2 separate regions of the Homo sapiens genome follow, and region 1 is linked to region 2. The links are contacts of gene promoters, found by promoter capture Hi-C in human tissues and cell types (Jung and others, 2019). All regions are on one chromosome and are shown on one strand. The core of a region is centred on a gene start or on the middle of the fragment in contact, and the rest is flanking DNA. Distances in the headings are between cores, read along the strand shown. Region 1 overlaps PCBP2 (poly(rC) binding protein 2). Region 2 holds the start of ATF7 (activating transcription factor 7).

Region 1 (4,664 bases), core at 1,337-3,836, 150 kb after region 2:
AATGTGCTGGGATTACAGGCATGAGCCACCGCGCCTGGCCTTATTTATTTATTTATTTTTTTGAGACTGAGTTTCACCCAGGCTGGAGTGCAATGGCGCAATCTCAACTCACTGCAACCCCTGCCTCCCGTGTTCTAGCGATTCTCCTGCCTCAGCCTCCTGAGTAGCTGCAATTCCAGGCAGCTGTCACCATGCCCAGCTAATTTTTGTATTTTCAGTAGAGACAGAGTTTCACCATGTTGGCCAGGCTGGTCTCAAACTTCTGACCTCAGGTGATCCACTTGTCTTGGCCTCCCAAAGTGCTAGGATTAGGCATGAGCCACCACACCCGGCCTTAAAAAGTTCTTTAAAAAGTTTTCAGGACTTAAAAGTAGCAGACAAAATAATTTGTTTCAACTCTGTAGCTCACTCTACAAGCTCCTAGATCTTGTCAAGCCATATCCTCCATCTAAACATACCTGGCTACAATGCCTTTCTGTTTCAAAGAGATAGTCATTTGAGGTCCTGGAATCCAATTTAGGGCTTTCAGGGAAAAGTATTTAAGTACTCAGTATGCTTCACTGGTAGGTAGGTAGGCAGCAAGACTTTGCCCTCATTTTGAATAGAACCAAATGTATAAGACTTCATTTCAGTTCATAAGATAAGTTATTTCATAAGATTTTAAACTGATTAGCATAAAATATTTGTGATATGTGGTCATGAAAACATGATTGGTAATTCACCATCTGTATCCCTTCCACAACAATGCAAAGCCAAAAGCTGGGTAGAAAAGCAAGGGCCAAAAAACTGCAAAGTCCTTCGACTACAAACTATTTACTTTTAGTCAGAAATGGTTTCTCCACCTCAGTATTAAGGGAATATTTAGGGTTTTTTTTTTTTTTTTTTTTTTTTTTTTTGAGACAGAGTCTTGCTTTGTCACCCAGGCTGGAGTACAGTGGCGCGGTCTCGGCTCACTGCAAGCTCCGCCTCCCAGGTTCACGCCATTCTCCTGCCTCAGCCTCCCGAGTTGCTGGGACTACAGGCGCCCACCACCATGCCCAGCTAATTTTTTTATGTTTTTAGTAGAGTCGGGGTTTCACTGTGTTAGCCAGGATGGTCTTGATCTCCTGACCTCGTGATCCACCCGCCTCGGCCTCCCAAAGTGCTGGGATTACAGGCGTGAGCCACCGTGCCCGGCAGGGGATATTTAGTTCTTAAAAGGGGGGTAGATTCGTGCCAATTTCAAAACACAATGATCTAAGGAAAGGTAAACAATAGCCCTGGATTAAAGGGTTCAGTAAGAACTGAAGGTCTAAGAAAGGAACTGCTAGATACCATTAGATCTAGGACCTGAAAATTTAAGTTCATAAAAATTGGTGGTAGCACTCTGGCCCCACCAGAGCTCTGAAAGAAATGTTCTGAATGTGTATCAAGCCCGAATGGGGATTTGCTGGGGTGGGGGAGGTGACGCAGGGAGAAGGGGATGCTATGAAATACTGAGTCAGGTACTCTAGGATAAAAGACCACATGGGGGAGCTCTAGGGTTTAAAAAAATTTAAAACTGAGGCCCTTTGGAGGTAGTGATGGTAGCTAGACCCTTAAACATGTGGAATCCTTCCTTGGGGAATAGCCATTAGGTTAAGAGGCCTTCCAATCAAGAACTAGATAAAACCACATCCCTGGGGGGAGATGGTATCAGCATGATTAAGTCCTAACTACAGGAGGAGCAAGCTTACCAAGGGAGAGAGCTGGACCACATGATAAAGGAGCAACTAAATAAAACTCCTTACTGGACAGGTTTGGCCATCTAATCCTTTATGCATACTTGAGACGTGTAACACTTCTTCACAGGCCCAATCTGGGATGGAGGGGCCAAAATAACATCAAAGAATGAGATAATATATTGGAATACTAACAGCTTTTTTTTTTTTGTCAGCCAATGGTGATGCTGGGAAAAGGTCATCAGGGAAACTATCTCTACACTGAGTTCTCTAATGCCCTGGGAAGAGCATTACACTTTCAGCACTGTGGCAACGTGTACTCTCGTTGAATGGAAGGCTATCAGAGGCCTTATACCACCATACTAAGAACATTTCTACTGTTTTATGAGAGGCCTGTGCCCATCTTAGTATAAGAAAATGAACAAGATTTCAGGGAGGTTAGTACGATTGAGTAAAAGTAAAGCTTAAGTTGTTAGTCCTGGCTAGTCACTCATAACCTATGAATTTAAATTATCTTAGGGCCTCTATTTTTTAATCTGTAAAATGAGGGGATCAATGTGTTACAGATTAGTTGATCCTTAAGGTTCCTTCCAAATCTAAGCATGTCACTTCCTACTCCTGATAGTGCTGGTGGGGAGCAGAAAGGATACGGCCAGGAATAGAAAAAAGGGTAAAGAAACTTGGTTGACAGAGTTGGTTTAGGACTAGTGGATGGCATCATGTCAAGTTGTGGATAATGTCACGGGTTGGCTGAGATATACCTAATGTCACAGAAAGAGGCATAATGCTAATTCAGAGGAATGCAGACAGAAGCTGCCTAATTTTATTAGACTTATCCCACTTTGCCCCTCCCCTTCATTCTGGGTAAAGAAGTATGTTCTTTGAATGTATGACTTGGAAGAGATCCTCATGGTAACCATTCACCAGAGGAATCCTGGGATGAACACCTTGTTAGCTGCTGCTGGCAAGGTAAGGCCATCTGAGAAGTCAGATAAACTTCCTCACTAGTGAAGCTTGTTGCCAATTACAGAGGACCTTCAGGATCTAAACTGCCACAGACTCGTTATCTCTTTGTGGAAATATTGACAAACGACTATAAAATTCACTTGGGATTCAAAAAGCCCATGTCAGTTATACAGGCTTCCTAGCTGAATAGCCACAAGTCACAAGCCCCCAACCCTTTACCCTTCACAGCACACAGTGTACTAAGGTTCTTACTGCGCCAACTTTATTACAGCTAGAAACACAAATATGGCCAAGAAGGCCTGCTGATAGCTTAACCATTAAATAATTCTTAAAAAAAAAAAAAAAAGTTAACGAAGCAGCTTTTATTCATTAACACAGAGCCTAACACATTGTTATATTGCAAGGCAGAATAAAGCTACAAAGAAAAGTAACAAACAAGAAAGAAGAGAAAACTGTGGCTCTAGATAAAGAATTCAAGTCAGACCCTGAAACAGGCACTCAGCTGAAATGGCCTAAACCTAAACAAGGGTTACCACTCCCCCACCCCCACCCAGTTATCCCCCAAAGTAGTAAAAAGGAAACGGTAACAAGCTCACAATAGTTTCATTCTCACCAATGTTAACAAAGGAAAACAAAATGAACAAAATAATACTGGAGGAGGTGCCTCAAGGTATGCAATCAGTAGGGAGAGAATCTCTGTTTCTCGCCTTTCAGTTTGTTAGTTACACATGGCACGGCAGAGGTGGTGGTGGTGGTAGCTGAAGCCCCGGTACCCTTAGCAGCAGACACAACATTTAGAGCCAGGAGAGGGATGGGTTTCATGCCAAGCAGACTGGAGACACAAGGGGCGGTCGGAAGAGGGTTGGGGAGGCTGGAGGGTGCGTCGGAGGTCCCCGCTGTGGCGAGCGAGGGGGTGGTGGTGGAGGAGGAAGAAGAAGAAGGGGTGGAGGGTTGAGAGAGGTTGATGCTGAGGTGATCAGGGATCGTGACGGAGGCTGCCTGGGAGGAGGGTTTAGCGTTTTCTAAACTGTAACAGAGGAAAAAAGGAACAAAAAAAAAGGGTGGGTGGAAGGGAAGACCACAAAAGGGAGTAAGTACAGGACAAAAACTGCTTCAGTTATATCAGTAAGTGCCTCTGGTTGACAATTAGGAAGACCTAGTGTCAACTTGTGACAAGCTTTCTTTTAGCCTATGTCCCACCCTCTAAATATGTATATTTCCATTCCACAGAGCTACTTAAAAACTGCTATGGTGAAGAAAAAGCTGACAGAGAAAAGAAATCATAGGGCACATACTTCATGTATCTGACACACTGACCCAACCCAGATGTTGAAGGAATGATTTCGGGTAGAAAAAGATACTCATCAATCACCCAACAAGGAAGAAATGTTTCCTCTAATCAAATGTCAATTTCCTATTCTAACAGAAAATCAATTATCCCACAATTACTTGTGAAGCTTTGAATATTTATAAAGCAGAATTTTTAAAAATCCTTCCAGCTATGTATTAAAGTCTGCTTACATCTCCACAGCAAACAAACCAGTATCAGGGTGGAAAGAGACAAGAGTCCAAAGTAGGTCACTGACTAATTTCAAATTTCAAAGAATGTAGCGTTTTCAAAGAAAAATGCTGAGAACAGAAGTGTAGATAAGAACTAGGGAAGCTTTTCTGGTGGGAGGTGGTATAAAAAGTTGTTTCTGACTGATCATACTTCTAATGTGGACCTTTCAGAAGTGGAAAAGAGAAACTCAAGTATCACCTAAAAATTCATACTTAAGCGAAAATGCTGCTGCTTCCACTCCCAAAATAAGCTCCACAGAACAGTAAGGGTACATGTCTCCCAAATGCCTGTATGTGTCTAAGCCAGAACTACATATATTTGGGAAGTGTGCCTGGACAATTGAGCCCACAACGCTAAGTCTTCAAGAGCAGAAAGGCTCCTCTTAAAACCTCATTTTATTTACCTATGTCCAAGGACAGCTGCAATCCATAAAGGAA
Region 2 (4,200 bases), core at 1,226-3,725:
CTGGTCTTGAACTCCTGACCTCGTGGTCCACCTGCCTCAGCCTCCCAAAGTGCTGGGATTACAGGTGTGAGCCACCGCACCCGGCCTGGAAAATTTTAAAAAATCATCTGGACATGGTAGCATGTACCTGTAGTCCTGGCTACTTGGGGTGCTGAGTTGGGAGGATTGCTTGAGTCTGGGAGGTCGAGGATGCAGTCAGCAGTGATCATGCCACTGCACTCCAACCTGGGCAACAAAGGGAGACCCTGCCAAAAAAAAAAAAAAAAAAAGGCCGGGCGCAGTGGCTCATGCCTGTAATCCCAGCTCTTTGGGAGGCCAAGCCGGGCAGATCACAAGGTCAAGAGATTGAGACCATCCTGGCCAACATGGTGAAACCCCGTCTCTACTAAAAATACAAAAATTTGCTGGGTGTGGTGGCGTGCGCCTGTAGTCCCAGCTACTCGGGAGGCTGAGGCAGGGGAATCGCTTGAACCCAGGAGGTGGAGGTTGCAGTGAGCTGAGATCGTGCCACTGCACTCCAGCCTGGTGACAGATCAAGACTCCGTCTCAAAAAACAAAAACAAACAAACAAACAAAAAACATCAATTTAGAATAGTACCTGGAACATAGTAAAATCTATAAATATTAGCTATTGCATGTATACAGCGATAGCCAATTGTTCCACCACGATTTGTAGAATCCTTTTCCCTCTGATTTTATTTTTATTTATTTATTTATTTATTTATTTATTTATTTATTTTGACACGGAGTTTCGCTGTTGTTGCCCAGGCTGGAGTGCAATGGCGGGATCTTGGCTCACTGCAACCTCCGCTTTCCAGGTTCAAGTGATTCTCTTGCCTCGGCCTCCTGAGTAGCTGGGATTTACAGGCGTGAGCCACTGCGCCCGGCCAACATACAAATTTTTCTTATATATTTAAGGTATGTTTCCATCACTGTATTCTTTTAAGTAGGAATTGTTTTAGGGGAGAATAGTTTGGAAGCCAAGACTCCTCTCAACTTTTCTCAATTCACTACATAAGAAAGAAAGATTTTACATCTGTTTCATTTTAGGTATCTAGGGAGAAATCACCCAGATTCTTCCTACCTCTCAGAGGGTGCTGTGAGGATAGATGAGATGCTAGACAGAAAGTTCAGAAAGCTGAGTAACATAAAGCTGCAAAAGGAGAGAACAGAGATTCCATAGATAATATTTTAAGTCAACTACAATTCGTTAAATTTTAAGAAAATTATTTATTTTATTTATTTATCGAGACAGGGTTTCACTCTGTTGTCCAGGCTGGAGTGCAGTGGCCTGATGTGGGCTCACTGCCACCTCAACCTCCTGGGCTCAAGCGATCTTCCCACTTAGCCCCCCGAATAGCTACTACAGGTGCAGGCCACCATGCCCGGCTAATTTTATATTTTTTCGTAGAGCTGAGTTTTCGCCATGTTGCCCAGGCTGGTCTCAAATTCCTGGGCTCAGGCGATCCTCTTGCCTCGGCCTAGCAGTGTTGGGATTACAGACGTGAGCCACTGCACCCAGCCTGTTTTTTGTTTTTCTTTTTTCTTTTCCTGGTTTGTCTTGAACAAGACATATAAATGTAAGACTATAGACTTTGCATTTGATATTTCCCCCGAAATCTTCCCAGGTCATAATTCAACTCCTGGTGTGTTACTTCCTCAAAGAGGTCTTCTCTCAAACACTAGGAGTAAAGCTTCTTCCCCACTCCTAGTCACCTTCTGTCTCACTATCCTGAAGCGCTTTTCACTATTTGAAATATTTGTGTTTATTGGCTTTTTAACTGTCTCCCCTTCCTCACTCAAATATAAATTCTACCTGGGTTGGTAACTCCTTAACCCCATGCTTAGAACAATGCTTTGCACGGGGGGTATAGCTCAGGGATAGAGCATTCGACTGCAGAACAATGCTTTGCATGTAGTATGCCCTACGTTTTGTGAAAATATTTGCTGAATAATATAGTGATTTTAAAAAATCCCCAAGCAGTTTCATGTATCTCATTTGATCATTACAACTATTTGAATAAAATGAGATTGTTAGTCCCATTGTACAGAGACTCAGAGAAGGTTTTCACCCAAGGCAATAGGGCTAGTAAAATGGTAGTGTTAGAATTGCTGTGCGGGTGGATTGCTTTGTCCGTACATGGACTTCATTTCTAGCGCTAAGGGTATTTTAAATTACTTTGCCGTTAAGGAAGCGATGACTCTGAAAGATAGTAGTAACCACCACTACAGGCACCTGTAAAGATCCTCTCTCCTTTTTCCTTTCTTTCTCCCGCTAGATTCTGCAGCCGAACACGTGTGACCTGTGTGGACAGTACTCGCTCAGTCTCCCTCCCCAGCCCTGCCCACAGTAAGCCCGGCCCCTTCTTTTCCCGGAGCCCCCGCCTCTCGGCCGCTTTCCAACTCAGCCCCCACGGATCTCGCCCTTCCCCCGCGGACCCATGACTTCTCGCGAGAGTTGAGCGCGCCTGGCCGGACGGGAGGAAAGTATCCGTTCCGCCAAGGGGGGAAAGGAGGAGCTGGAGACAGATTGTAGGACCGAGCGCGGGCAGGCGGGAGGCAACGGAGCTACCAGCCGGTAAGTCCTTTTAACATTAGCTAGTCCATGATCTGACGGGAGTCTCCCTTTCAACTCTGGCCAGTCCCAGCGTTCCAGGCTGGGGTCTCCCCTCCCAGTCTGTGTTGGACGGGGGCGCTGAGGCGGTGGCCGGGCCCTGTCTGAGGAAGAGGGTGGGGCATAGGCCAAAGCCGACCAATGGGAGAGAAGGAAGCCTCGATTGGCGGCGATGAGCGCTAATGGGAGATCGCTTTTACGTTGCCGAGCGCCGCCCTTCTCTCCCTACTCCCGCCTCCTTCCTTTGGGGGGAAGGCGGGGCCAGAGGCTTGAAGTGTGGGGAGAACTTGGTGTAAGTAGCCCCGGGGGGCACAGGGCGTGGCAAGGAGAGGGGAATTGAATCCTGAGGGAAGGGTAGTCTAGTGGAGCCTAATGGAAGGATCATGGGATGGGGTGGAATGGGAGAAAGAGGAGGGATACTAAACTAAGTTAGAAACCCAGGGCTTCCCAAAGAGTGGGATTAGGAGCTTGGAATTGGAAAAGGGTAATAGGAAGGAGGTAGGAATGAGTAGATGAGAACAAAGATCTTGATCTGGTGACACAACACCCCGTTGGGTTTGGCAGAAAAGATAGATGGGGTGGATTATTGGAAATGAGGGTCATGGCATTTTGATTGAATTAATTAAAAGAACATCAGGGACATGATATCAGAGAGAAAGTATGGATTTGGAGAAAATTAAGTGAATTAATTTAAGAGGACAGTATGGGTGAGCTGAGTCGCCATAAGGCATGGCTTCTGGAAGGATATGAGCCTTGAGAGCGATAAGAGGTGTTTGGGAAGGAGATGGCTGATATACACATGTCTTTAGCCTAGGTATCAGGTGGTTGGGATATTGATTTAGGGCTTCTGGTGGATATGGCACCCAGACTGGTGACCAGCCTCCAAGATGCTGGGATGGGGGTTGAGAAGGAGAAAAATAGAACGCTTTCATCGCTTCTCTGATTTTCCTTCTCCCTCTCTTCTATTACCCAAACTCTTCCCAGACACCAGGATGTGGTCTTGGGACTTAAGCAGTCCAAGTTGGAGCCCCATAGGGACTTAATATGTTGCTCTGAATTGCTTGTTATGTTCTCTGACTGGGGTGTTTACAACCCAGGGCACCTCCTACCCAGATTCCCGCGTTGCTACTTTCCTAACTTTAAAAGTTTGTTTTCTGCTTAACAGAGGGTGTTTTAGTATCTCTGAGGGTCATGTCATATTAAGTACAGGTGTGTAGGGGGTGTGCAGAGTTTTCTCAGCAAGCTCACATGAGTCCTGTGTTTAAAAATTTTGCAGTAGTGTAATTCTTGTAGCGATATCAGTCTTTATGGGCATTCTAAGCAGAAATATACTAAAATGAAGTTTGTTTTGTTAAATGTGGCTTCCCCAGTCATTCTCGAAGAGTTGTCGAATGGGTGGTTGCAGTTTGTTTTAGTTAACTTACATAATGTGTTTTTAAATAGTGTAAATAAAATAGACATGTTATTTCAGGAAAGTGAAAAATGTTCAGTTTTTTCCTTTGTGTCCAGACTCAGAAACTAAAGCTATGTCATAATATCTTAGGCCAAGGGCTGGGGAAATCAAACACAATTTGTACTTACACATG

What was found. The method cuts DNA at HindIII sites, captures the fragments that hold promoters and counts their contacts. A contact is called where the count stands out against the background at its distance.
Region 1: a contact is called between a fragment that was not itself captured here and the fragment with the promoter of ATF7 in region 2, in 1 of the 25 tissues and cell types used here (hippocampus).

Annotation. Positions count from the first base shown.
Region 1 is chr12:53,473,898-53,478,561 of GRCh38, reverse strand. All of the region lies in intron 14 of PCBP2 (poly(rC) binding protein 2), which reads right to left. Among named protein-coding and RNA genes, the nearest start is that of PCBP2-OT1, 12 kb to the right of the region's middle. The HindIII fragment of the contact is 4,559 bases long and covers 307-4,664 here.
Region 2 is chr12:53,624,657-53,628,856 of GRCh38, reverse strand. It overlaps ATF7 (activating transcription factor 7), which reads left to right and starts at 2,475. Exons shown (of 12, transcript NM_006856.3): 1 at 2,475-2,578. It overlaps ATF7-NPFF (ATF7-NPFF readthrough), which reads left to right and starts at 2,475. Exons shown (of 15, transcript NR_159377.1): 1 at 2,475-2,578. RefSeq lists an enhancer at 2,549-2,618. The HindIII fragment of the contact is 8,169 bases long and covers 149-4,200 here.